7 separate regions of the Homo sapiens genome follow, and all the other regions are linked to region 1. Evidence: promoter capture Hi-C in 16 types of primary human blood cells and fetal thymus (Javierre and others, 2016). All regions are on one chromosome and are shown on one strand. The core of a region is centred on a gene start or on the middle of the fragment in contact, and the rest is flanking DNA. Distances in the headings are between cores, read along the strand shown.

The links. The method cuts DNA at HindIII sites, captures the fragments that hold promoters and counts their contacts. A CHiCAGO score of 5 or more calls a contact.
Region 2: a contact is called between a fragment that was not itself captured here and the fragment with the promoter of STX17 in region 1, in 2 of 17 cell types (fetal thymus and M2 macrophages). The highest score is 6.3, in fetal thymus.
Region 3: a fragment that was not itself captured here is called in contact with the fragment with the promoter of STX17 in region 1 in 1 of 17 cell types (total B cells); the score reaches 5.3 in total B cells.
Region 4: a fragment that was not itself captured here is called in contact with the fragment with the promoter of STX17 in region 1 in 4 of 17 cell types (M1 macrophages, total B cells, naive B cells and 1 more); the score reaches 9.5 in M1 macrophages.
Region 5: the fragment with the promoter of TGFBR1 here is called in contact with the fragment with the promoter of STX17 in region 1 in 1 of 17 cell types (fetal thymus); the score reaches 8.3 in fetal thymus.
Region 6: a contact is called between a fragment that was not itself captured here and the fragment with the promoter of STX17 in region 1, in 1 of 17 cell types (fetal thymus). The highest score is 6.2, in fetal thymus.
Region 7: a contact is called between a fragment that was not itself captured here and the fragment with the promoter of STX17 in region 1, in 1 of 17 cell types (fetal thymus). The highest score is 6.0, in fetal thymus.

What each region holds. Positions count from the first base shown.
Region 1 is chr9:99,904,908-99,908,057 of GRCh38, forward strand. It overlaps STX17 (syntaxin 17), which reads left to right and starts at 1,747. Exons shown (of 8, transcript NM_017919.3): 1 at 1,747-1,799. STX17-DT (STX17 divergent transcript) reads right to left here and starts at 1,694. Exons shown (of 3, transcript NR_038853.1): 1 at 1,647-1,694. RefSeq lists a silencer at 1,486-1,885 and an enhancer at 2,046-2,285. The HindIII fragment of the contact is 1,410 bases long and covers 578-1,987 here.
Region 2 is chr9:99,122,323-99,125,077 of GRCh38, forward strand. All of the region lies in intron 1 of TGFBR1 (transforming growth factor beta receptor 1), which reads left to right. Among named protein-coding and RNA genes, the nearest start is that of TGFBR1, 19 kb to the left of the region's middle. The HindIII fragment of the contact is 795 bases long and covers 980-1,774 here.
Region 3 is chr9:99,192,226-99,195,317 of GRCh38, forward strand. No RefSeq gene overlaps it. Among named protein-coding and RNA genes, the nearest start is that of ALG2, 28 kb to the right of the region's middle. The HindIII fragment of the contact is 3,582 bases long and covers 1-3,092 here.
Region 4 is chr9:99,174,444-99,177,296 of GRCh38, forward strand. No RefSeq gene overlaps it. Among named protein-coding and RNA genes, the nearest start is that of ALG2, 46 kb to the right of the region's middle. The HindIII fragment of the contact is 4,738 bases long and covers 1-2,853 here.
Region 5 is chr9:99,103,627-99,106,596 of GRCh38, forward strand. TGFBR1 (transforming growth factor beta receptor 1) reads left to right here and starts at 1,487. Exons shown (of 9, transcript NM_004612.4): 1 at 1,487-1,676. The coding sequence starts at 1,580. RefSeq lists silencers at 1,015-1,614, 1,705-2,214. The HindIII fragment of the contact is 12,693 bases long and covers 1-2,970 here.
Region 6 is chr9:99,139,697-99,142,663 of GRCh38, forward strand. It overlaps TGFBR1 (transforming growth factor beta receptor 1), which reads left to right. Exons shown (of 9, transcript NM_004612.4): 5 at 2,840-2,967. Among named protein-coding and RNA genes, the nearest start is that of TGFBR1, 36 kb to the left of the region's middle. The HindIII fragment of the contact is 1,247 bases long and covers 1,095-2,341 here.
Region 7 is chr9:99,000,580-99,003,587 of GRCh38, forward strand. COL15A1 (collagen type XV alpha 1 chain) reads left to right here. Exons shown (of 42, transcript NM_001855.5): 7 at 260-372; 8 at 2,874-3,008. Among named protein-coding and RNA genes, the nearest start is that of COL15A1-AS1, 57 kb to the left of the region's middle. The HindIII fragment of the contact is 1,710 bases long and covers 591-2,300 here.

The DNA of each region.
Region 1 (3,150 bases), core at 497-2,996:
GTTCAGTTAGGACTTCAGGAAAATGTCGGCCAGTAGTAGCAGGCCTGCCCCTAACAACTTGATGACCTAGAGTACACAAAAGAGGTCCACACACCATATGTTTGAATATTTAAAGATTATAAATCAAGCTAACCAACAGTTAGATTAAAAGGTTTTGGTCGGGCATGGTGGCTCACACCTGTAATCCCAGTACTTTGGGAGGCCGAGGCGGGCGGATCACGAGGTCAGGAGATCAAGACCATCCTGGCTAACATGGTGAAACTCTGTCTCTATTAAAAATACAAAAAATTAGCCGGGCATGTTGGCACACGCCTGTAGTCCCAGCTACTCAGGAGGCTGACACAGGATAATCGCTTGAATCTGGGAGGTGGAGGTTGCAGTGAGCTGAGATCATGCCACTGCACTCCAGCCTGGGCGAAAGAGCAAGACTCTGTCTAAAAAAAAAAAAAAAAAAAAAATGTTTATCCTACTACTTTGACACACCTAACTTACAGCAAACATACATATAACAACTTAGAAGTCCAGGTCCAAATTTAGAATCTTTGAGTACCACACCTCCTGATTTTGTACCTGAGGAAGCTTTTTCAGAACTTAACACAAATGATCTTTTATTTCAAAAGATCTTATTTCACTGATCCTTGCATAAAAAACATTTTCTCACAGTATTGCCTAATACTTTAATTTTTCTCCTTAGAATCAAAATTTGATAAATACATTCTGGAGCTCATTGTAAAACAAATATCAGTATACATTATGTCCCCAAAGAAAATCCAAATTGCTTGGTAGATTTGGTGCTTTGTTTTAGAAATTGTCTTTCAAGGCTTTTTAAAGGATCTACAGGCCCCTAATCTTCCCTGTTTACCTCCTACTCTACTGGAAGACCCTAAGAACTCAGTTTCCTTAACTGTGGTTTGAACATCCTGATCACTTCTGAGACAATGCCATTAGTGAATACATTCTAAGCACGTCATCTGAATATTCACAGACATCTTTTTAAAAGGGCTGGATCTGGAAGTTAGGCCATGAAGAGAGGAGGACCTGTGACTTGGACAAGGCTTCAAAGCCGGCCACCTGCTTGTTCATGTGGTTGCAGCTGGTCTAACTGGAATAACTTGGGAAGGAAATTAGGACACCCAGTTGGAGTTCCAGCTCTGCCATAAGCTGGCTGAACTGGAGTGAGTCACTTAAAACTCTTTGTTAAACCCCAGAGTCATAATCTATAAAATCGGGATAAAGACGTTTGCCTTAAGCCCTCCACCAGTTTTTGGAGGAAACCACAATTTGCTGAGCTTTAATTTTTACACCTGTTGCAATTAAGATGGCACTCCTGCCCTGTCCACTTCACAGGGCTTTTGGGGACGGGATGGGGAGGCACCACCTTTCTGAGCTTCAGTTTCAAAACAGAGCTAAGAATACATGCCCAACCCGCAAATAAAATTCTAGGAAGAACAGAGGAAAACGGACAGGAAAACTGCGAAATGCAGTCGGCCATACAAGCATGAATTGTCTTAAACACAACAAGCAGACCTAAAGAGCGTTTGTGCGTCTCTCTCCTCTTGGCTCGAGTCACAACCCCATAACGTAAATCAATATCACTTTTGAAAAAGGCTTTCGCTGTTCTCAGCAGCGTCCGCATTTGTACTCACCTGTGCGCCCCCAGCGCCCGGCCTGGGGGCCCTGCGGGGCGGGGGCGGGGGCGGGGGCGGGGCCCAACCCTGCCCACCCCTCGTGATGCCCCGCCCCGTCGCTCCTGCGCCTGCGCCGTGCCCACCGACCGGCCTCGAGCGCCCCGGCGGGAGGTAAGGGGCTCTCTGGAGGCCGCCTTTGGGGGCGTCGGGCCCTCACAGGCTTGGTGGGCCTGGCGCCCGTGTGGCGCGCGCAAGAGGCGCTGGGCGGCAAGTAGGGCATTGGATCCGAAGTGCGAGCGCCATGGTGGCTCCTCCTGTTTTTCAGAAGTGGCGGAGCCTCGCTTGGTTTCGTTTTTGGAAGCTTTATTGGAAGCTGGTATAGGGAGGCCGCAGACGATGCGAGCAGGACGGCCTCCCGGGGTCGCGGGGTGGAAAAGTTTCCGGCGCGCGTCCTGTCTCTGGCGCGCTGTAGGCCCCGGGTCGCCAGGGTCGCTGGCGTCTGGGTCCCGGGACAGACCCGCGCATCCGTTCGCTGGTGGGGGCGTTTGGTGTGTGTGGCCCAGGTGTGCTGTGGGTGACACTGCGAGGAATGACGCGACGCTCGATGGTAGTGAGGCTCGGAGGACTGGGAGCGAGAGGCCGGAAGCCCCTGCTCGCCAAACCCAGAGGTGGTTGGCAGAAGGTCCCACACCTTGGCTCCCTCCTTTTAGCTAACCGAGGTTCAGAGAGGAGACTTTACTTTGACTTTTCTCTCCAAATTCGGTATCTCTTCCATAAGTCAGAAACATTAAGCGGCGGGCCGGAAGAAATCGGGCGCCACTAGTATCCTGAAAAGTGGGAGCTCTGGGCCGATGGAAGGTGTTCGTCACTTTTGGGGGCTGGGTTTCCTGAGAAATGGGGTCTTTCACTTATTAATAACCTCCTAAGTAACTTACTGGGAAACATGAGTATTATGGTACCCATCTCATATTAGTTGTAAGCACTACATGATAAAGTTTGTAAAGCACCTGGCACAGTCCTGGCACCCCTCTCTCCAAGTATTAATGCAGTGAATACGATGGCAGTTCTTTGACTTCTAAATGTTTTTACCTGTCTTACGTGAAACATCCTCTTATACTAAAAAACTTTTTTATTTTGAAATAATTTTAAAATTACAGAAAAGTTTCAAAAGTAATACAGAGTTCCCTATTGCCTCCATTAATAATTTTTTACATACCATAGCGCAATTATCAAAAGCAAGAAGTTAATATTAGTATAATACTATTAACTGAATTACTAACTTGTGATTTTTTTTCCTGTATTAATGTCCTTTTTCTATTCTAGGATCCACTCTAAGACCCGACATTGCAGTTAGTTGTCTTGGGTCCTTGGTCTCCTCCAGTCTGTGACAGTTCCTCTGTCTTTTCCTGTCTTTACACTGATAGTCTTTTTCTGTCTTTATACTCTTTCTGATCTTTACACTTTTGAAGAATGCTGGTCAGTTATTTTGTAGAGTGCCCCTCAAATGGGGTTTGTCCAGTGT
Region 2 (2,755 bases), core at 127-2,626, 780 kb before region 1:
CATATATTAATACTATACACAACTGTTTACCTCTCAGCTTTTCTAGCAAGACATATGGGCTTGTGAATTAACCCTGGGTAGCCCTGGCATTAGATAGAATTAATAGTGCTTCCATATGTGACCTCGAGACGTACTGAAATGAGGCAACCAAGGAAATCCTTTATATTGGGACCAAGAGCCAAGATCTCAACTTGGGATATGTTACCCCGAGAGTTGTTACCCCGATACTATAATACCATGAATAATAACCCCAAGGGTCCTGTTGTCTCTTTTTCCTCATGTCACTTCCTTTGGTACTAACTGTCACCATGCTAACATCTGCAAACTTTGAAAATTCTGATTTATTCTGCAATATTTGGAAATTTCACTGCTAGTAATTGTATTTCCTGGCATGGTTCTGATATAATTTTCTGTGTACACAGTAGCTTTTCCTTTTAGTGCTGAATCACACTGAAATCCTTGTTTAACCTAAGTTATAGTTGCAAGGGAGCTATCAAGACAAATAATTACAGTGATGGTGAAGTGAATACAAGTCAAACATCCCAATCTGAAATTCAAAACCTTTTGAGCACACCAACATGATGCCACAAGTGGAAAATTCTGCACATAAGTACTTAACATGACCTTTGTTTCATGCTCAAAATTATTTCAAATATTATATTAAATTACCTTCAGACTATATATATAAAGCATATATGAAACATGAATGAATTTTATACTTAGACTTGGGTCCCATTCCCAAGATGTCTCATTATGTATATGCAAATATTCCAAAATCTGAAAAAAATCCCAAATCCAAAACACTTCTGGTCCTGAGCATTTTGCATGAGGGATACTCAACTTGTAATCTTTTCTATGTATAGCCAAGTTTGCACATACATAGGTTACAACAACCCATCATGTCTTAACCTTTCAGTCTGGAGGCTGGAGTTTTCTTTTTACTTTGATTGTAAATTGTATTCAGATTTTAGAAATGTAAAGCTTAGAGAAATGTGCATCTCAAGATTAAGAAAGCTATGCCCACTGTTAAAGACTGGGGCATGGAAACAAAGTTGGACAGTGTAGTAGAAAGGTCCTAAACAGGGGATTTGGTTCTTATTTTTGCTATCAAGCAGAAGAGTCAAAACTGTAGGAGTCTAAACCAAATCAGGTCCACCTGGGAGTCTTTAAAGTTCAGGGTTACTTAGCATGGGGATAGTGGTATAGCAAATAGTTGCGTAGGTTTCACTCGTGGGCTGGTGATAATATAGTGAGGATTCACATCCGCCTGTAATCTGGGTAGAATATTTGTATAAATCATTTTGGTTTTTTGGTTTTCTTTTTAAAATTTTTAAAATTGTTTTGCTTTTCTTAAGTTTTGGTTTCTACATTAATAAAATGACAGAACTGAATTGCCTAGATGATATTCAAAGTTTCATGTGGTTCTGTTAGTCTGGGATTCTACAGTGGAATTTTGTCACTACTTTTGGGAAGAAGTTTACCTTTGGTGGCCTACGAATAAAAACCACATTGGCACAATGCCATTTATCATATGGGATAATTCTGTGTGTTTATATAATCATTTATGTTCGTTTCCAAATGTGTTAATAAAGTACAGTATCTCATTTGATTAGCTCAGATGATGAAATAGGTCAGAGAGGTATTATGTTTATTTTCCTGATGAAATAAAACATCGTAGTTAGCATCTTGAACAATTTAAATTTGATCATCTTACTTGGTATGCCAGCCACTAAGGATGAAATCCTGCCACTGAGAAAGAAAACCCAGTCAGGAAAGCTTTCTCACCCTTATCTATCTAACAAATTGTACATATTCTCCAAGTTCTGACTTGAATGCTGGTGAAGCTTTTCTTGATAATCTCTTCTACCGCAGCAGAGTAGAAACACTTTGATCATTCTTCTCAGGACTCAGGATTTTAATTATCTGTTTAATGCCTTTCCCTTCCACCCTAGTGAACTACTCAAGTGCAAATACCTTGTCTTACTCATCTCTGCACCTCATAGCCCACACTGTACCTGGCATATAGAGATGCTTAGTGAATAATTGCAGAATTAAATGAAAGAGTCAAGGTGATGTGTTGCAGAGTGAGGAGAACTTGGGCTTTGGGCTGGCGGAAGGAGGTGTCTTCGTTTACGTTTTTTAGATTGAAATTTTGCCATGTATATGCGTTTAAAAATTTAAAACCTAGTTGAATAAAAGGTTGGGGGGGGCAGTATCCAGGGGCCAAATCTATCTATTAATAAAATAAATTTGAATTTTTTAAAAAAATGGCAATTAAAACTCATGTTCATGGAAAAAATTAAGTTCTTATTTTAGTTTTTCCCTAAACGATCTTGCCGTATCACATAACAGCAGTCTTGTAGTCAATCAAGACTGACTTCAAGTGGTGAAATGGAATTTTTTAATTCCCTGAAGAGAGAAATCTTTACCTAGTTAAGCTTTGTGTTATCTTGATGTTTTTATTTGTCTAGTGACCTCTTCTGATTGAAAGAGTAGTTAAGAAAAACCCTTTAGTACTGACTTTTTCAAATTTACCGTAATGTAATGACCTCTTTGAAAGGAGAAGTACAGAGTGTATTTTTCATAATGTTACTTAAATTCTGTAGACATGAAACTAGATATAAAACCCTTATGTTCTTGGCTCATACACCACTATAAACCAAATCTGCAAATTAAATACAAAGACAACTACAAAAAAAAACAAAATTCAAATGAATACAATTATTCCATGTGACAGATGATGTTTAGGTTTTGC
Region 3 (3,092 bases), core at 100-2,599, 710 kb before region 1:
TTCCCAGCCTCCAGAATTGTGAGCAATGAATTTCTGTTGTTTATAAATTACCCCGTCTAAAGTATTTTGTTATAGCAACAGGAATGAACTTAGATACCACTATACACACTCTGCTTGCACTGATGGTGCTTTGGAGGTTGAAGGAATTGGGTGTTCGATATGTGCTGAAGAGTTAAGGGAAAAGGGCAGTTGTTGCATGTTACTGGAATTGAAAAGTAGAAAAGCGAACATTTATGTGACTAAGAAAAATGGAAATCCCTTAGCCCTGAAGATCTTCAGTGATATTAGGAAGATTCTCTCTTTCCCATCACATATGGATTTAGGGTTAAAGTCACTCCACTTAAATATTATGGCAACAGAGAGGCGCTCAGGACCTGGAGACCTCCAAGCTGCTGCTGACTTTTGAGTTTCACAACGTTGAGAAGGTAGGGGGTATTATTTTCAATACATCTCTTCTAGAGAAGGATGAAATAAAATGTGTGTGTGTGTGTGTGTGTGTGTGTGTGTGTGTGTGTGTGTGTGTGTGTGTTGGGGGGTGATTCAGGAGAATCTGAAATAGGACAGCCTGATACTGAATTGATCATCATTGTTGCTGTAACAAATTAGCCACAATTAACACAATTAACTTTAGTGGCTTAAAAACAAGCCTCCACTGTGTTTGGAGGAAACTAGCAGGCAATGGGATTGGTTAGTATCCAAGATCATTGTTAAGTGTCAGAGCAGGCAAGAGCCCATCCCTGATGGAAGCCTGAAATGTGGGGTGAGAATGACTCATGGGAGAGTCAGTGACTCCTACTCTGCACTTTGGGTCAAAAAGTTGTATGTTGAACCGAATAATGGTCCCCTAAGGATGCCCATGTCCTAATCCCTGGAACCTATGAATGTTTCATTCCATGGTAAAAGTGACTTTGCAGATGCAACTAAATTAAGGATCTTGACATGGGGAGATTATCCTGAATTATTAATATCTGGGTGGGCGCAATATAATCACAGGAGTATTTATAAGAGGAAGACAGGAGTTGCAGGGAGGGGAGGCGATGGAAGCAGAGAACTGAGTCATGTAGCCATAGGCCAAGGAATACAGGCGGCCTCTAGGGGCTACAAGAGGCAAGAAACAGATTCTTTCTAGATCCTCTCTCAGAAGGAACCATCCTTGCCGACACCTTGATTTCAGCCTCAGAAGACTCATTGTAGGCATCTGACTCCCAGAACTGTAAGAGAATGCATGTTGTTTTAAGCCACTAAAGTTAATTGTGTTAATTGTTGCTAATTCTTTACAGCAACAATGAAAAACAAATACAAGCTGGAAGCAATATAATGGACCAACAATAGGGGACTATGTGACAGAAGCTGTTTTTGTAGAGGAACACACTTACGGGAAGTAGTGTAGAGTCTGAGGTTTTGAGGTGAGCAGATGTGGAGGTCTGAGTCCAGTTCTATCCTTTCTAGTGGTGTGATCATAAGCAAGTGACTTATCCTCTTTGAGCCTCAATTTCTTCATCTATAAAATGGGGATACCCACCTCATAGTCTTGTGAGGGCTAAACTGTGCCTGGTACACAGTAGGCACTCACTCAGTAGTAACGTCTATTACCATTATCATAGAAAAAAAATCTGAAAGGACCTAAAGCAATAGGAATAAGAGAAAAGTAATAAAAGGTGCGTTATAACAATTAAAGAATCTGGAAATGTTCAGAGTTTTATAAAGGTCTAATTCATTCTCAAACAATGAGCTACAGTCTCTTTGTAGCTCTGCCTCTTGGGTAATTTTTTTTATTACTTTTACTACTTTTATTTTTACAAGTTACTTGCAATTAAATGTTTTATCTTGCCAGTTCTTTTAAAAAAATTTTCAAAGTGTACAACATTTGTACTGTCTTCCGTTAAATTGCTTTTGCCCACGTGGTTTGCTCCCAAGGTTTTGAGGTGGTAGGGACTCTGAGTGAGGGCAGAAGGCACACAGGGAAAGAAAAAGGGAGCTTGGCCTCCTGCAGTCTGGAGGGACAGCCTGGGGCATCTGGGGACAGAGAGCAAGCACCCTTTCATCTGATACTTAACGCTGGGAGGAAAAAAGCAAGGTTAAACTGTGACTTTAAGCAAATCATGTTTACTTAAGTAATTCATTGTGGGTATTTTTTGAAAATGGCTTAAAACTATGTCTCTACTTAGTCATGCAGATATTAGCAGGTAAGGAGAACTTTATTTTTAATATTAATTCAACAGACATATTGAGCATCCACCATCGGCCAGGCAGATCAAAGAATGGATCTGGGAGGGAAGTAGTGAGTGGATGAAGAGAAACACAAAAGTGAGTAAATCAAGCTAACCAGTTTCCATAAGCCTATTATCTACTTTCACATTTTTCCATATTTACCTTATATCTCTATTTCTCTTTTTATTTTCAAAATAATTTGAAAGTAATTTTCAGACATCATGATTCTTCATCCCTATATATTTCAACGGAAATCTCTGCTATGGATTGAATTGTGTCCCCCTCAAATTCACACGTTGAAGCCCTAACCCCAAATGTGATATTTGGACATGGGGCACTTGGGGGTAATTAGGTTTAGATGAGGTCACAAGGGTGGAGCCCTCACAATGGGATTAGTGCCCTTGTAAGAAGAGATACCAGAGAGCTTTTGTGCTCTTTCTCTCTCTGTTGTGTGAGGACACAGTAAAAAGGCAAAGCTGTCTGCAAGCTGAGACTACAGCTTTCAGGAAGAGGGCCCTCACCCAAGTTCAACTATGCTGGCACCCTGACTTAGGACCTCCAGTTCCTAGAACTGTGAGAAATAAATGTATGTTGTTTAAGCCACTCAGTCTATGGTATTTTGTTATCACAGCCCAAGTAGAGTAAGATGATTGCCTAAGAGTAAGAACATATTCCTTTATTACCATCTGCTATTATTACTAAGAAAGTTAAACATAATTCTATAAAATCATCTAATATCATCTATATTCTAATGTCCCAAAAATGGGTTTTATACCTATTTTAATCTACTCTGATTTTATTGTTGTTGTTTTACTTACCTGGAATAAAACTGACCTTTGATCGCTGTTGCCAATGGCATGTCTGTGCACCATATAGCATTT
Region 4 (2,853 bases), core at 159-2,658, 730 kb before region 1:
CAAATAGTTTTCATCCTGGAGTTTAGGTTGTCTCTACATTTCAATAGAAATTGTTGCTTTTGGATGATTTCCAGAAAAAAAAAATGGACATGCTGACATCTTGCCATGGGGTGACTTTATGGGAATTGGGGTGCCTCTGGGTGAAGGACAGTTTCAGATGATGGCTGCCATGCAAGGATGCAGCTTTTCTCAGAGCTGAGACAGGACCCAGCCAGAATGCTTGGTGTCTGATTCTAATGTCCTTGATCTTCAACTCTGCGTTAGAAGGCCTTCATTAGCCGTGCTAATAAAAGAAAAATAGAAAACACTGAAAAACTAACACAAAAAATTAAAATGGGCTGAGCGTGATGGCTCCCGCCTGTAATCCCAGCACTTTGGGAGGCTGAGGCAGGTGGATCACATGAGGTCAGGAGTTCGAGACCAGCCTGGCCAACATGGTGAAACCCCATCTCTACTAAAAATACAAAAAAAATTAGCAGGGTGTGATGGTGCATGCCTGTAATCCCAGCTACTTGGGAGGCTGAGGCAGGAGAATCACTTGAACCCGGGAGGCAGAGGTTGCAGTGAGCCGAGATCATGCCGTTTCACTCCAGCCTGAGCAACAAGAGTGAGACTCCATCTTAAAAAAAAAAAAAAAAAAAATTTAAAATGACCCATAACGTTTCCACCTAGTGAAAACTACTGTTAAAGGTGTAACATGGTAGATAAACACCTTCAGATTTTTCTCTATACATACATATGCACATACAAAAAGATGATCCTACTAGGCATATGATTCTGAAACTAGTTATTCTCAATTAGCACTATAGAATGAATATATTCCCATCAATAAACAGATTTATTTAATTTTTTTTTGAGGCAGAGTCTCGCTCTGTCTTCCAGGCTGGAGTGTATTCAATTTTTAATGGATCTATGATGGTCTAGTGTATGCATGGCATATGATTTATTTAATTGGTAACTTAGTGATGCACACTGCTTCTCATTTTTTAGCTTTCTAAACAATTCTTCACTGAATATCTTTGGCTGTATACCCCTGTCAACTTGCCTGAGTGTTTTCTCCTAAAGCAGGGTTTCTCAAGAGTGACAATAATTCTTATTCTGGGGGGATGTCCTGTGTACCATGAGATGGGTAACAGCCTCCCTGGCCTGCATCACTAGATGCCAGCAGCACCCCTTCCCCAACTTGCTGACAATCAATGTCTCTACATTGCCAAATGTCCCTTGGGCAGCACAGTTGCCCCTGCTTGAGAACCACTGCCCTAAGGATAAAGTTCTTAAGATAAAAGTTTAAAGAATATGCATATTTTAAGGTTTTTGTTATCTATTGCCAAATTACCTTCTCAGAATTGCACTGATTTATGACTTTATACTCCAAACAACAGTGTATAATAGCGCTCAATTTCACTACCCTTATGAATATGAACGTTAGCACTAAAAAAAGCCCAGCTCAAAACATTTTACCAATCTCAGAAAACAAAATGGGTTTTTTGTTTGTTTTTGTTTTGCTTTTTGAGACAGAGTCTTGCTCTGTTGCCCAGGCTAGAGTGCAGTGGCATGATCTTGGCTCACTGCAACCTCCCCCTTCCAGGTTCAAGTGACTCTCCTGCCTCAGCCTCCTGAGTAGCTGGGACTACAGGCGTGTGCCACCATGCCCAGCTAATTTTTGTATTTGTAGTAGAGCTGGAGTTTCACCACGTTGGCCAGGCTGGTCTTGAACTCCTGAGCTCAGGTGATCTGCCCACCTTGGCCTCCCAAAGTGCTGGGATTACAGGCATGAGGCACTGTGCCCGGCCAGAAAACAAAATACTATCTCACTGACTTTTAAAAATTACTAGAGTGAGACTGAACATGAAATGAAACTATGTTGATTATACAGATTAGCTATTGTTTCCACGGTGAATTATTTTTCCTTATAATTTACTATTTTTTCCTTTGGAATATTCATTTTTGTCTTATTTTTTCATGTCAGCTTTTAATATTATGAACAGAATGTACATATTTTTCCTAACTTGCTGTTTGTCTTTATGTGTTGAGATGTGTGGTCTTATTTGTTCAAAAATCCTAAGAGGGTTGTAAACAGGGCCAGGAAGAGAGTCCTCACACAGGTGTCTCTCTGGGGGCCCTGAATCGTGTCCCTGCCAGTGAGCCTCCAACCGGCTGGGTCTCTGTCTAGCAGAGGATCCTATGTGAGTCATGCTCTTTTTTATTAAAATCTGCTGAATGTTCCTTTTGTGTCTGAGTGAAAAGTTCTGGCTCTGAAAACTCAGTTGTCAGGGGAGCCTTGATCTGGGAAGACTGACCTGGGGCTCAACAATAATTAGTTCAGGTTAATTATTGGCAATCTGTAGATGTGCAGCATAGGAGCTTCTCTTCCCCTCGGCCTGGGCCTCTGGAGGTTTCTTTTATGAGCTCTGAACCCTGAGGGAGGACTTAAAGTAATGAATTTTCCTGTAATCAGATTTGAGGGTTTGTTCCCTGAGCCATCCAGTCAATTGGAGAATTGAGCACTGACTGGTTTATTTGGCTACGGGATGCAGGAGATGATGCACAGAGCATCTGATAAGCAACCCGGGGAGGAGAGTGAAGAAATGGCATGACATATTCAAGAAGTTGACCTCTGGGCTTGGAGGGAGCGGTTCTGTTTACAAGGGGGACATAGTGTCTGGGAGCTATTCAGAAGAGTGGGGTATTTTATTTTGAGTATCAGGGAGTAAGAGTTCTGCTTATCCTCGAGGGGAACCTTGTGAGATTCACCTTGAACTTCATTCCTATGACAGCAGTGCAGTTTGTACATGTTTATAAACACTTAATTTGTTCAGGTGAGCCACAGTGGCTCACTCCTAAAATCCCAGC
Region 5 (2,970 bases), core at 237-2,736, 800 kb before region 1:
CCTCAGCCTGAGCAAGAGGGGAGTTTGCTGCTGAGGCTGCTGGAGCTGCGGTGTAGAGCAAGTTGCAGGCCTCTGAGCCTGTTGGAGGTTCAGAAAGGTTAGCTGACTTGCTTAAGTAAGTGTCCTAGACAGGAGGGAGAAAGCGCGCGGGTCTCAGATCCCAGCTCCAATATCCACGCCTTTTCCCTTTTCATCTCCCGGAAGGAAGCCTTCACAGGTGGGGAAAATGCTCACCCAGTGACTCTAAAGTAGTGCACAAATTGGCATTAATCAGAACCATTCTGATTCCTGCTATCAAGGTTTATTTAATTCTAAGCTCAAATGACACAGAAAATAAAATTTCCTCCTTAAAAGGTTCTGCGGAAAAATATTCTCTGTTCTACGTAACAGCCTCCTTGGCTGTGTTTGTGTCTGAAGAAAGGACTAGTCTGACAGGAAGAATTACAAATCTGGAGCTCATTTTGGCGTCGCAGAGGGAAGGTGGGTGGAGCGTCTCGCAGTAAATTAGGAATTCAGAATGAAAACGTAGAGTTTATTTGGGTTTTTAGTGACACCTCAGGATTATTATACAGCAGTGTCAGACACAGCTCAAAGTAATGATGACTGCTCCCCCTCCGCCCCGCGGGAGCTGGGTGCTAAGAAGGGGGAACCCCTCCTTTGAGGGGTTGGGGTGGGGATCCTCCCTTTCCAACCTGGATCGGGAAGGGGTTTGAGAGGAGTGCGGCTTGGATCCCCATCCTGGATCTGTGCTGGAGGGAGGCGGGAGGCTATTTGGGGGTGTGTTTGGGCTCAGGATCTGGGTCTGACGCTGGGATCTGAGGACTTTCTGGGTTTGGAACTGGGTGGGGGAGCTGGGTTTGGGGTGACCGCTGGGAGCAGGAGGAAATAGGAGAGTGAGTCGCATGTGAAGGGCACTGAGGAGGGATCTTCGGGGGAATGCTGAAGTTGATGCGTGGACTTGGAGAGGGGAAGTTGAAGTGGATGCAGGGGCCTGGCGCTGCAGCGGATCTGGGTGGCATGTGCTGGGATTGCCAATGCGGAGCTGTGAATGGGGTCAGGGTGGGGCTGAGGCAGTACCAGATCTTCCGCGCCTAGAGGAGGTTAGAAGAAAAGAGCGTCGAACGGCCACAGCCTTTTTCCGAAAGAGACTCACACAGACACACCCATCGCTCTACCCGGCCCTCCGGGGCTAGCGGCTGAGCGGTGCTGGGGCTGGCAGACCCCGCCCCCACGCGGCCTCTCGGAGCCGGGAGCCGATCGGGCCGGGGCTGGGGTCTGGCGGCCCAGCCCCCGGGGAGCGTGGGGCGTGGCCAGAAACCGGCGCTCGCGGCTGCGGATTGGCTGCCTGGCGGGCCCGCAGGCGGGGCTCCCGGCTGGGTCCCGCTTGGCAGCTCGCGGCGGCGGGGAGGCGGGGCCGGCGGGAGCCCGGCAGCCAATGGACGCGCGTCCTCCGAGCAGTTACAAAGGGCCGGAGCGAGGCCGCCGCGGCGGCTAGGGAGGTGGGGCGAGGCGAGGTTTGCTGGGGTGAGGCAGCGGCGCGGCCGGGCCGGGCCGGGCCACAGGCGGTGGCGGCGGGACCATGGAGGCGGCGGTCGCTGCTCCGCGTCCCCGGCTGCTCCTCCTCGTGCTGGCGGCGGCGGCGGCGGCGGCGGCGGCGCTGCTCCCGGGGGCGACGGGTGAGCGGCGGCGCGGCGGGCGGGCGACTGCGGGGCGCGCGGGCCGGACCCGGCCTCTGGCTCGCTCCTGCTCTTTCTCAAACATGGCGCGGGGCCGGGGGCGCAGGTGGCGGCGCCGGGGCCCGGGCCGGGCTCTCGTGGCGCCGCGCGGCTCGGCGGCTGCCGGGCGAACCGCAAGCGGGGAGCGGAGGCGGGGCAGGGGCGTGTGTCCGGGCGCGGGCGGACGTGTCCGGCTGCCCGAGGCCGCCCCGCTCGGGACTCCCCGGGGAGGTGGAGTCGGGCGGAGTCGTCCGAGGTCCGGGGCTGCCCTCTGGGGTGTGAGTGGGCGAGGGCCAGGGGCGGAGAGTGCGAGGCCGGCGGGGACTGGCAGAGCCGTGGCTGCCCGCCGCCGCCCCCTGGGCACGGCGTGACCTTGTTCTGGGGACCCCCGCCCCAAGAGGGTCCGTGCCAGAGGCTGCCGAACCCGGGGCGGGGTTTGAGGTTGGGGTGGAAGGCGGCTCCCGGGCGGGGTGTGAGCTCCGAGCCTCTAGGGCTTCGTCCAGTGGGAGTCGGGGGCGACGTGTGGTGAGACCCCTGGGTCCGCAGGCCGCCCTGACTCCCGCCCGGCTCGACCCGAGCCGACCCTGCTGGAAGGGGCTGCTCCTCCAGCCAGGGGGGCTTTGTGTGAGAAGAAGGAAGCGCGGAGATGCGCGGAATGTTTCTTCTTTCGTGCGTCTGGGGAGTGTTGAAGTGAGTCCAGTAACCAGACGGCTACGGATTGTTTTCATAGTGGAAACTTGAACGTTTGCTCATTCTGCGGGTTTTGGAAATTTTGGGAACGACTGTGAATTGATTAAACGCTTTTTATTTCCTCGAAGGAACATCACTCACGTTGTTCCTTTTCTTGAGTGACAGTTAATAGTTTGATTCAGACATCTGTATAGCTGGTTTTCAAGGAAGACTGTTGGCTGGATTTTTCAAAATAGTAAATCAGGTTGGGGTAGGTGGTTGGTATCCACAAAGGGATGAGTGAAAAACTTCGTTAGCAGCTGAACTGAGACACTAGAAGCTAAAATACACAGCCTCAGTGTTAGCAACTAAAATGCAGTGAAAGTACATTTCTGTTTCTGAAACTGGACAAAAGATGTTGAAATTTTTTTAAAAAATCAAGACTGACGGTGACGATTATAATCAGTCCTAATAGCTACCGTCTATGTATTGTGCATTACTACGATGTAAATGCATACACTATTGTATAATTACATTATTTAATCACCACAAGTAAACTCCCAGGAGTAGTGGCATTTGCCCCACT
Region 6 (2,967 bases), core at 468-2,967, 770 kb before region 1:
TCCAGTTAGGTTCAATTCTATAATTGTCTCCTATTAAAAAAATTATTTATTCAAATTATGATTCTAAGTCCACAAGTTATATTTAGTTGATATTTCTCTTATGTGTCTTAAAATTTAGGTCCCCCCTTCATCTTTTTTCTCCTCTCGCAGCTTATTTGTTGAAGAAATTGGATTGTTTATCCTGAAGGGCCTATCACATTCTGGATTTTGCTGATTGCATTTCCATAGTGTCTCTTAACTTGTTCTTCTATCTTTTCTGAAAACTGGTAGTTAGATTTAGAAGCTAAACCTAATTGGAGTTTTATTGGTTTTCTCAAAATACATACTAAGGATATTATATACATCCTATTGCATCATATGTGGAGGTGTATAGTGTTTGATTAAGACGGGGCAGTGAGGTATATGATGAATGTAGGTAGCGATTATCAGTGGCACCTGACAATGTAATACCTCTTAAGTTAAAAACAAAACAGGCCGGGCACAGTGGCTCACGCCTGTAATCCCAGCACTTTGGGAAGCCAAGGTGGGTGGATCACGAGGTCAAGAGTTCAAGACCAGCCTGGCTGGCCAAGATGATGAAACCCCATCTCTACTAAAAATACAAAAAAATTAGCCAGGCATGATGGCAGGTGCCTATAATCCCAGCTACTTGGGAAGCTAAGGCAGAGAATTGCTTGAACCTGGGAGGTGGAGGTTGCAGTCAGAGCTGAGATCGCACCACTGCACTCCAGCCTGGGCGACACAGGGAGACTCTGTCTCAAAAAAAAAACAACAACAAAACAAAACAAAACAAAAAATAGTAATCAGTCTGACCAAATCCTTAGTTCTCATTTTCGTTTCTGCCTTTATCACCATTTATTTCCTCCCCCAACTCTTAAAACAACCTTTTCTTTATTTACTGTGTTTGATGACCCTAGACTTTCCTTGTTCCTTCTTACTTCTTCATAGTTGTCTTTGTTTTCTCAACTCTTACTCTTCTCACTGGTTCATATGAAGGTACTGATTTTATAAGTGGTAATTTCTTCCTTAAGAACATAGCCACATTCATGGTTTCAAACTCTACCATGTTGGCAACTCTCAAATCTCCATTTGAAAGCTTAAACCTCACCCAGGGTCTGGATTTTGTCACATTCCAAGTTACAAACACAGCAGCACAAAATGTTGGTGAGTCTGTGCCCTGAACTTCTAACCAGGCTGATGCTGTCATCTGGTGGTCACCATGGGAACTAGCTGACCCTACTGGCTCTTCCCTACTCCCCTTCTTTCTTCTTTGTCAGGGGTTAATGTACTTTCTCTGAGCCTAGCCCCTCCACCTCAGTTCCTTTATCTTCTCCTGATTTAGTTAATTCCACCCCCGGCAGCCCTTTATATTTATGGCCCCTTACATATAACCTTCCTTCTATCTTGTCCATAACCTGTGGTTTCCCTTTCTTCCATCTGCCTGTCTTCCACTTTGTTTCTTGTATTTGTGAGCTTTTCAAAATTCAGTAATGGTTAAGAGGCATGCAAATAAGCTAGTGATGTGCCTATATCAAGGAAAAGCAAGGGTGCGAGTTTGGTCAGAATCAGTTTATAAAGTTCATGAAGAACAAATTAATACTAAGTCCTTTTAAATGTACCCAGAAATCTCCTCCAGAATCTTCTGAAAAGTTTCTATTCCTTTCTTAATCTCTTCTAATCAGAGTTGGTTTTCTTCTTCAACCAAATACCTTCAAAATAGAAGCTGTTTCATGTCAATATGGATTTTTTCTTTTGGTTTACAACCAGCAGGGAAAGAAAGAGCACAGTTTATGTACTTCTTACCTAAAGAATCTAGCATTCCGTTTTTTAAATCTTAACAGTCTTACAAAGTAAGACTTTATTCTTGTATAAAAGGAGAAACAGGCTCCTTGTCAGTAACAGGCAGGCCGTGGATTCCAACCAGGTTAGAATGACTCTAAGCGTCCATCTTTTACTGGATTGTGCTGTCTCCTAATGTTGTAATGCTTTTTTTCTTCATGGCTTAATTAAGCATGTGGTTTTCCAGCTACTTCTAGGTTAAATTAGATTGTCGTGGACCAGTCTAGCTTAGGAGCCTAGCTAGTGTCTTTACCATTATTCCTATGAGAAAACATGTTTTAAACTCGTGTTTTGGCTTACAGAGGAAATTTTGGAACCCACGTTCCTCGTTGTTTGAGTTTAGTCCCAGCTTTTCCAGTTTTGCTCCTGACATTTCAGTTCCTATTTCAGCTTCCCCATGTGTTAGAGGTATCACTATTTCTGTTTTTCTAAGCTAGCAACCTTGGAATCATAATCATCTTGTCTTGCGTCTTTGTGAACTGTGTACACAATCTGTCACTAAAGCTTGTCATTTCTTGTTGAAACTCACTTTCAGTTTTGTCCCATACTCTTCCATTCCCACTGTGGCCACACTGGTCTCCGGAGACTTCTCACCTCCTTGCTTCCCTCTCTGTTCCTTCCTTTTTTTTAACCTTCTCTCCTTCCAGGAACAGCCACTGAGCACCCAACCCGACCCAGAGATTTTTCTAGGCACTTAAGAGTGCCAGCTCTGATACCAATTATCTGTGAAGACTCAAAAAAGTCACCATCTTTGTCTCTTAAATGGGATTAATTATACTTGCCTTATCTCAAGAAGAGGGGCTTACTCTGAGGAACTAAAGGATGTGTACATAAAAGTATAAAACAAACAATGTAGAAGAAAATGTGAAGGAAATACAGACTTAAGGTGGCATTATATTGCAGTGTGTGACTCAGGATTGAGAGTAAAAAGTAATAACCATTGAACAAATAAATCATAAATGGTCTGCAGCCCAACCGAAATGTTAATTCTGTTTTACAGACAATGGTACTTGGACTCAGCTCTGGTTGGTGTCAGATTATCATGAGCATGGATCCCTTTTTGATTACTTAAACAGATACACAGTTACTGTGGAAGGAATGATAAAACTTGCTCTGTCCACGGCGAGC
Region 7 (3,008 bases), core at 196-2,695, 900 kb before region 1:
GAATTATTGTAATTCCCCATTTCTAGATAAGGAACTTGAGGCAGAAGTTGAGCGACTTGCCTGCAGGTGGTGCCAGAGCCTGGAATGGAAACCACACATGCTTTGCCATGTATGTTGTTCTGCAACTTGTTTTTTCCCCCTCTTGACCCTGTGTCATGGTATCTGAACATCTTTCCAAGTTAGCTGGTGAAGAGATACCTCATTCTTTTCCAAGACTGCAAAATGTAGTTATTGATAGCAGAATGCCTGCTTCCTGTAGGGTCTGGTGAGATCCTGAATGACACACTGGAGGGGGTTCATTCTGTGGATGGTGACCCCATTACTGACAGCGGCTCAGGGGCTGGGGCCTTCCTTGACATTGCTGAAGAAAAGGTGAGTAGATGGTAAATTTCATTTGATTAGTCAGTAGTAGGCTTGTTTGCTTATTTCAAACTTGGTGATGATTTTACTGAGCACCAGAGAGAACCACAAGGGTTTTGGTTGAATAGCATCAAGATTGCTTCTGTCCTCATGGTACAGAGGAGGTCAGAGTCCCAGGGCCACAGAGGCTCTCCAGGGATGCACAGGACTGGTGGGGGATATGCAGTGCAAGCTTGTCCTCACACTTGCCTGTGATGAGCGAGCGTCCAGGCCTCACCAATGCAACCCCGCCCTCCTGCTCAGTTGTGAAGGCACATAGCTTTATCAGCCCTTTGAGTCCCCTTCAAGACAGAATCAGATTAACTGCAGGTGTGTTCATGCTATTGTTTGGTAATTGGCTTTTACACCTGCAAAGCCAGTTTTTGAAATGCTGGGCTCCCTAGGGTGCAAAATTAAAGCATAAATAGTTTTCTCACAATGGCCCCTGCTGAAAACCCACAACGCCAGCTCATTCCTTCCCTTCTCCTGGGATGAAAACTTAAGACAGTTCTCACAGCTCTCTCAGTCACTATCTGGTAACAGTCAATTTTCACAGATATTTAAAAGTCAAGCCCAGCATAATATCAAAAATTCAACAAAATTACAAACACAGTTTCCCCCCTTCTATACTCAGGCCTACTGTAGACTAGGAAACTGCCAGGAAAGGGAAGCATGGTTAGGGGTTTCCTCTCTATTTTCTTACTTCTCTCTCCTCCTTATCCTCATGATCTCCCCATCCTCTAGAGCTATTTTTAACATCTGCAGGGGCTGGCCCACCTGGAGAAATGGACACAGTTGTACTTGGCTGGTCAAATTGTGATCTGGGCTTTTGGTGTGGAAGATGCCTGATTGTTGGAACTCTCTCTTATGGGGGCTTTTGTGGTTCCTGGGAGGTCTTCCTGCAGGGGACCTAGGATCAAAATTCCATAGTTTGCCTTGTAACTTCTGCCCGGGCTTCCACCCCATACAGGTTGCCCAGATCTTCTGCGTGGCTCTTTGAGTACAGCCCATTTCAGCCAGCTCCCTTTGGAGAGATTTTATCTTGTCTATCTCCAGCAAAACAACTGCAGGACAAATACCCCTCCCTTCTCCATCCCCCTCCCCTCCTCTCCCCTTTCCCTCTCACCTCCTCCTTCCCTCCTCTCTCCTTTTATTCCCTCCCTTCCTCTCCTCTCCTCTCCTCTCCCCTTTTCTCCCCTCCCCTCCTCTTCCCACTTCCCTCCTTTTCTCTTTCTCCCTCACCTCCCCCTCCTCTCCTCTCCCCTTCCCCTCTCTTCCTTTGTCCCTCTCTCCCAACTCTGAATCTAAAGGGCTCCCTCCTTTCACCTTTTGTCTCCCTGGAGAAAATCAGACACCAGTCCCTGAGCCTCCCAAATTCCAGGAAATACATACCCAGCTCACCAAATGGTTTGGAGTGAGTAGAGGGGAGGAGAAGAACCGCAGTACACTGAAAATTCTTTCCAAAGGAATTCTTGCTCTCCAGGCACTCAACCCCAAAATGAGTCCTGTATGGTTTCTTACACAGCCTAGAGGTAGGAGATGGGCAGGAGCTGGTAGAACGGGTGCCATTTCCTTGTTTTAGCATGGGGAGATTACCTGATGCCTGTGAAATTGCACTTGCCCTTTGGGGCTTTAGCTGACGCTGAGTTAGAAAGAGTCTCATTTTAACATCCTGGGACCTCAACTTTCCTCTAACTGTTTTTTGAGACAGTAATTCTGCAAGGATTTAATATATTTTATGAAAAAGGGGCTCTGTGGTCAAATGACTTTGGGAAATGCTGCACTCTACATTCCTCTTTTTATAGATTCTGAGAAATCCTGCAGCAAGGAAATCTTTTTAACTTTGATTAGCCTGGTGTTTTTTGTAACCAAAAGAACCACATTTTTGCAATAAATAAACAAGCTTTGGGAAATGAAGATAGAACATAGTTTGCTGTCACCAGCCCCAAAGCTGCTCTCTCTTTCCATTTCTCCCATTGCTATGAAACCTTCAGAGAATCTGCCTGTGCATTCCCAAAGGAAACTGAGTCACAGGGAGAGAGAAGAAGCAGGAATGTCTCTGTCTCCCAGCCTAGAGAAGGCTGAGGAGGACAGAGGTGCTGCCTACACATTTCTGAAGCATCTTCATGGGCAAAGACATTGTCTAATGCCTTCTGGATGGGTACATGGGGAGGTCACAGGGAGGCAATGGGTTTCAGTAGAAGTATCTAGAGCTAGACCAGGCTGACTCAGGAGCAGTGATTTCCGTGTTAATGGAGGTGCAAACCAATACTGGGAATCAAACACCAGACATAGGTGCCTGGGCAGTCTTTCCCATCCCTGGATTTATGAAACCATAGATGTGAAAGTCCTTGAGAGAAAGAAGCTACAGAAATGCAGGTGGCTGGAGAAGGCTAGGCAGTCTGTTCTCACCAGCCACAGGCATGTTGATGGGAGCCCAGAGACATGGTCTCTTGTGATGCCTTTGTTTTCAGAATTTAGCAGCAACAGCAGCGGGGCTGGCCGAGGTGCCCATCAGCACTGCTGGAGAAGCAGAGGCCAGCAGTGTGCCCACCGGGGGACCAACCCTCTCTATGTCCACGGAGAACCCAGAGGAAGGGGTCACTCCA